2 separate regions of the Homo sapiens genome follow, and region 2 is linked to region 1. Evidence: promoter capture Hi-C in 16 types of primary human blood cells and fetal thymus (Javierre and others, 2016). All regions are on one chromosome and are shown on one strand. The core of a region is centred on a gene start or on the middle of the fragment in contact, and the rest is flanking DNA. Distances in the headings are between cores, read along the strand shown. Region 1 holds the start of EVPLL (envoplakin like). Region 2 has its middle 17 kb from the start of CDRT15L2.

Region 1 (3,003 bases), core at 303-2,802:
GAGACCACTTTGTTTCCTCATTGCTGTCAGGGGCCTCTGCTGCCCTCCCCACCCCCACTGCCCCTGTCAGCTCCTCCACCTCTAGGAATGGGGGTTTACTGCATCCCCTCTCCATGGCCGAGTTCAGGAGCTTCCCATGAGATTCACCCAAAAAGGGCACAGGCCTTTTCTATCCCATGGGGGCCTGAGGCCAGTATCAGGTGTCGGTCCCTGGTCTCCCCCATCTGCTGGGACCTTTCTCTCCTGCCAGGCTGTTTTGTCCTCAGCGAGGCCTGCCAGGATGACCAGGTGATGTCACCCAGTCCGCCTGTTCCATCCCCTGGCTCCCCCTCAAGCCCTCCTTCCACTAAAACCACGGGGATTTCAGGAATGACCTGGAAAGCGACGCCACCTCTGCAGAAGGGGCCTGTTACGCTGGGCCAGTAAAATGAGCGCCTGGAAAGGGGGGTCCCATCGCCCCTTTCTTGAAGACGCTGAGGGTCACCACAGAAGGAAAAGGCAGCAGCCCTGGTCCCCAGTGTGAGGAAAAGACCAATAAGCTGGCATCACTCTCTGCCACTCAATCTGACTTCATAAAAGCCACCAGGGGCCATTTCTGGGTGGGGGAAGAGGCAGGTAGGAAAAGCCAAGTGCATCGGGCTCCCGGGCCTCAGCCAGAGCCCAGGCTTAGTGGCACCTGAAGCCAGCCCTGGTGCTGCTGCACTGTGCACACTTTATAAAATGGGGCCGGGCATGGTGGCTCATGCCTGTAATCCCAGCACTTTGGGAGGCCAAGGCGGGTGGATCACTTGAGGTCAGGAGTTCCAGACCAGCCTGGCCAACATGGTGAATCCCCTTCTCTGCTAAAAATACAAAAATTTTCTGGGCGTGGTGACGGACACCTGTAATCCCAGCTACTTGGGAGGCTGAGGCAGGAGAATCGCTTGAACCCGGCAGGCAGAGGTTGCAGTGAGCCGAGATCGTGCCTTTGCACTCCAGCCTGGGTGACAGAGCAAGACTTTGTCTCTTAAAAAAAAAAAAAATGGACCTTGTGCCAGTTGTCTGGAGTGAACGTCCCCTGGCTGCCCCATCATGTCAGTGGAGAACACAGAGCCAGGCCCTGGGCTGGCAGGACACCCCCTCCTCTCCTGGGGGATTGAGAGCTGTGGGTGGGGGCCAGCCTGGCAGCAGGGCCTCTGAGCTGGCTGGAGATGTTTATTAATCCTGAGCTCCAGAGCTGGGGCCTCTCCGCTGAGCCTGCGCCTGCATGTGCACGTCTGTCTCCAGACCCATCTGTCCTGGCCCAGCTCCTTCCCTATCTGGGTGTAATCGCCACCGCGCTCCCCTGGGCATGTGGGTGTAACAAGTCCAAACCTTCTGTGGGAGTCGGGCAGGCTCGGCCCCACCCTCAAGGCTGTGCCCTTTCCTCCCAGACTGGTTATGCAAGAGCAGGCATGAGTGTGGTTTTTGTGGGTGCATGCGCGGCAGGCCTGGGGCCTGGCCGCCTGCTGCCTCACCTGCAAGGAGGGGCCTCCCAGAAACTCCCTTCCCCAATGCCCAGCCGCCCCACCTTGCCAGACTTAGCTGACCAGCCAGCAAGGACGCCCGCTGCCTCCCACCTGCCCTCCTGCCCTCCTTCACCAGCCAAGCCCAGCCTGAGCCAGCACCTGCCTTTATGACCATGTTCAAGGGACTGAGCAAAGGCTCCCAGGGGAAGGGGTCCCCCAAGGACTCCCCAGCCAAGGGGTCCCCCAAAGGCTCCCCCAGCAAGCACAGCTGGTGAGTGGGACTAGGGGATGGGGAGCCAGGGAGCTAGGGTGGGGGTGGTGCCAGGCCCAGGTCCTTGAGCCACCTGGCGGCGGCCCAGAGCCCAGGACCAGCCCCGTGCTGGCATTTGGTGTCCCGAGGACAAAGGGCCCAGGGGTGGACTCTCTCCCTGCCTTGGGAGCCGCAGGCCCAGGCCGAACTTCAGCCCTGGCAGGAGGCAGGGGATGGCCTGGGGCTCCCTACATCCTCTAAGGGGGCCTGTGGGCCACAGATTGATGCTGCTCAGCGGGAGAAGTGCCGGACAGGAGCCTGCACTGATGCCCTCCTCTGCCAGAGGCTGGGACACAGGAGAGCCTGGTTGTGTGACTGCAGCTCTGCCCCAAGGCTCTACTTGGCTGGGATGACCCCTGGAGCCTGGGTGCAGGGCATGAGGACTGAGGGGGTGGGGTGGGATCCCTGGGGTAGGGATGCAGGGGCTGTGCTGCCTCCTGCCTAAGCCAGAGCCCTCCCCAGAGCTCTCACCCAGGGCCTTGTTGTATTGAAGAGTTAGGGGTTCATGGCTGGGCGCGGTAGCTCACGCCTATAATCCCTGACTTTAGGAGGCCAATGCGGGAGGATTCCTTGAGCCCAGGAGTTTGAGACCAGCCTGGGCAACATAGGGAGATCTTGTTTCTATAAAAAAAATAAAAATAAAAAACAGCCAGGTATGGTGGCTCATGCCTATTGCTTGAGCCCAGGAGTTTGAGGCTTCAGTGAGCCATGATCACACCACTGCGCTCCTGCCTGGGTGACAGACTGTGACTCTGTCTTTAAAAAAAAAAAAAATCCTGGTGCAATACCTCATGCCTGCAATCCTACCACTTTGGGAGGCTGAGGCGGGTGGATGACTTGAGCCCAGGAGTTGGAGACCAGCCTGGGCAACATGACGAAATCCCATCTCTATAAAAAATATACAAAAATTATCTGGATGTAGTGGTGCATGCCTGTAGTCAGAGCTACTTGGGAGGCTGAGGTGAGAGGATCACTTGAGCCCGGGAAGTCGAGGCTGCAGTGAGCCGTGATCACTCAACTGCACTCTAGCCTGGGTGACAGAGCAAGACCCTGTCTGTTAAAACAAAACAGAATAGAGCTGGGGCTTCCTTTTCCAGTGGGTGTGGTGCAGGGGGCACTGGGCCTCCCTTGGACCACCCGGTTCTCTGGGGCCCAGCCTCAGCTCTCTGTGGATGGATTGGGTGGCGCTCTTCCCACTCACTGGCT
Region 2 (3,003 bases), core at 193-2,692, 2.2 Mb after region 1:
ACATAAAACTACCATATGACCCAGCAATTCCACTCCTAAGTAGATGTCCAAAACCCCTGACAGCAGGGTTGCAAACAGGTACTTGAACTCAGGAACGGAAAACCAAACATCATATGTTCTCACTGATATGTGGGAGCAAAACTATGAGGATGCAAAGGCATAAGAATGATACAATGGACATTGGGGACTTGGGGGGAAGATTGGAAGGTGGGGGCGAGGGATAAAAGACAACAAATATGGTGCAGTGTATACTGTTCTGGTGATGAGTGCACCAAAATCTCAGAAATCACCACTAAAGAACTTATTCATGTAGCCAAATACCACCTGTACCCCAATAACTTATCAAAAAATAAAACACAATTTTTAAAAAAACAGATACTTGTGTCCCAACATTCAGAGCAGCATATTCACAATAGCCAAAAGGTAGAAACAGCCCAATTGTTCATCAACAGAAGAATAAATGAGCAACATGTATTATATGTGCACAGGGGGATACTATTCAGTTATTAAAATGAATGGAATACTTATACTTCCTGCAAATATGGATGGACTTTGAAGATTTGCAATTCAAATCTAATGAATAGACAGGGCCGAGCATAATGGCTTATCCCTTTAATGCCAGGACTTTGGGAGGCTGAGGTAGGAGGATCACTTGAGCCCAGGAGTTTGAGATCAGCCTGGGCAACATAGCAAGACCTCATCTGTACAAAAAAATTGTTTAAATGCCAGGCATGGTGGTGTAGGCCTGTATTCTTGGCTACTGGCAGGGCTGTGGAGGGAGTCTCGCTTGGGTTCAGGAGGTTGAGGCTGCGGTGCACTAGGATACCACCACTGCAATCCAACATGGGGAAGAGAGCAAGATCCCTCTCTAAACATAAAAATTATAAAAATAACACACAAAATGGCTCAGCACGGTGGCTCATTCCTGTAATCCCAACACTTTGGGAGACCAAGGTGGGTGGATCACGAGGTCAAGAGATGGAGACCATCCTGGCCAATGTGATGAAACTCTGTCTCTACTAAAAATACAAAAATTAGCTGGGTGTGGTGGTTCCTGTGTGTAGTCCCAGCTACTCAGGAGACTCAGGCAGGAGAATCGCTTGAACCCGGGAGGCAAAGGTGGCAGTGAGCTGAGATCATGCCACTGCACTCCAGCCTGGTGACAGAGCAAGACTCCATCTCAAAATAATAAAAACAAAAACAAGTAAGTGTGTGTCTGTGCCCATGCCTCCGAGCAAGTTCGTGTCAGCATGCATAGCTGTGTTGTGTCCAGGTGAGTAGGCACATGTGCATGTGTGCGAGTGTTGGATGCTGGGGCAGTCAGGGTTAGAGTCACTCACAGTCAGCACCTGCTCTTCACTTCCTCATGCCTGGTTCCTACAGGCCCCCACAAGAAGCATGTAGGGCCCAAGCACCCCTTGCCACCTCTTAACCCCAAGCACAGGCATGAGAGGGTGAGGGTGGCCGACTGCAGGGCCCAGGCTTGGAGGACCCTGGAGCTGACTCCTGGTGCACATGCCACAACCGCCAGCCTGCCCTGGCCTGGCTCCTGGGAAACACTTGCCCTTGGCCAGCTGGAGAGGTGTTGATTTGGGACACAGCCCCACAGTGATCACCACTTTATCCCACCCCCAAATACTTCCTAAGGCCATTTATTGCTAGGAGATGGGCACAGGCAGCCTGCTGTGATGACTTCCTAGACACAGGCTCTGGGGACAGGAAGCCCATCTGGCCCCCTTCCTATGACATGGCTGGGAGGCAGGAGGTGGGCCTCGGGTAAGAAGGATAGATAAGGGCAGCTTGGGCAGGTTGGGGTGATCAGACCCAACATCAGGCCATGGGGGCTTCGAAGTCCAGCGGAGTCATAGGAATGAGAAAAGACAGGAAATAAAGTGGGACCAGGGGGCCAACACTAGTATGGAGGCTGCAAAGGCCCTGAGCTCTGGGAGCCCAGGCTATTTACTGGTGCTCAAACAAAGAAACACATGGTGAGGATGTGGGGGTTTAAAGGAAGCAATGTATCAAGTGAGTGAGCTACAGCTGCGATGGTGTAGCATTTTCTTTGAAACATGTGGCTACTTGAGATAATGGGAGTGCTAGAAGCAAGAGCTAGCAAGTCTAGCAGACATGCAAGCCCTGCCTCAGCTTCTCTCCCAACACTCAGCTTTTCTCCCAAAAGGACAGAGGAAGCAGCAGTAAGTCTCAGAGCCTCAGGACCAGAGGGGCCCCAGTGCCCCTTGGTCAGGATGCTGAGCCCAGAGAGGGCAAGATCCTGACTTGAGGTCACAGAGCAGCAATCCCTGGCAGAACTAGCATTCCTTTTGGAGAAATTCAGAGTTCATGGTCCCCAGGAGTCATTCATTTACTCATGCATTCATTCGGCAATTACATATGGAGCCTCTACTATATGCCAGGCCCACTTCTAGCCCCAGCATACAGCAGTGGACAAGACAAACCAATCCCCACCTCAAGGAGCTGATGCTCTGGTCACAGAGACAGAAAACAAGTGAAGAAGATCACATTACATGATGCTAAAGGCTAGCAAATAAAATTACACCACATGGAATGTTGGAGTCACTCTGTCCAAATGGTGGCCACTAGCCCCATATGGCTATTTGAGTTTCAAGCAATTGGAGTAATTGAAAATTAAGAGTTTAGCGGCCGGGCACGGTGGCTCACATCTGTAATCCCAGCACTTTGGGAGGCCGAGGCAGGCGGATCACGAGGTCAGGAGATGAAGACCATCCTGGCTAACATGGTGAAACCCCGCCTCTACTAAAAATACAAAAAATTAGCCAGGCGTGGTGGCGGGCACCTGTAATCCTAGCAACTCAGGAGGCTGAGGCAGGAGAATGGGAGAGATTGAGACCATCCTGGCTAACACGATGAAACCCCATCTCTACTAAAAATACAAAAAAATTAGCTGGGGGTGGTGGCAGGCACCTGTAATCTCAGCTACTCGGGAGGCCGAGGCAAGAGAATGGCATGAACCTGGGAGGCAGA

What was found. Contacts are between HindIII fragments. The CHiCAGO score rates a contact against its expected background, and 5 or more counts as called.
Region 2: a fragment that was not itself captured here is called in contact with the fragment with the promoter of EVPLL in region 1 in 10 of 17 cell types (erythroblasts, total CD4 T cells, M1 macrophages and 7 more); the score reaches 21.3 in erythroblasts.

Annotation. Positions count from the first base shown.
Region 1 is chr17:18,376,226-18,379,228 of GRCh38, forward strand. It overlaps EVPLL (envoplakin like), which reads left to right and starts at 1,553. Exons shown (of 11, transcript NM_001145127.2): 1 at 1,553-1,758. The HindIII fragment of the contact is 15,578 bases long and covers 1-3,003 here.
Region 2 is chr17:20,561,314-20,564,316 of GRCh38, forward strand. No RefSeq gene overlaps it. Among named protein-coding and RNA genes, the nearest start is that of CDRT15L2, 17 kb to the right of the region's middle. The HindIII fragment of the contact is 4,651 bases long and covers 1-3,003 here.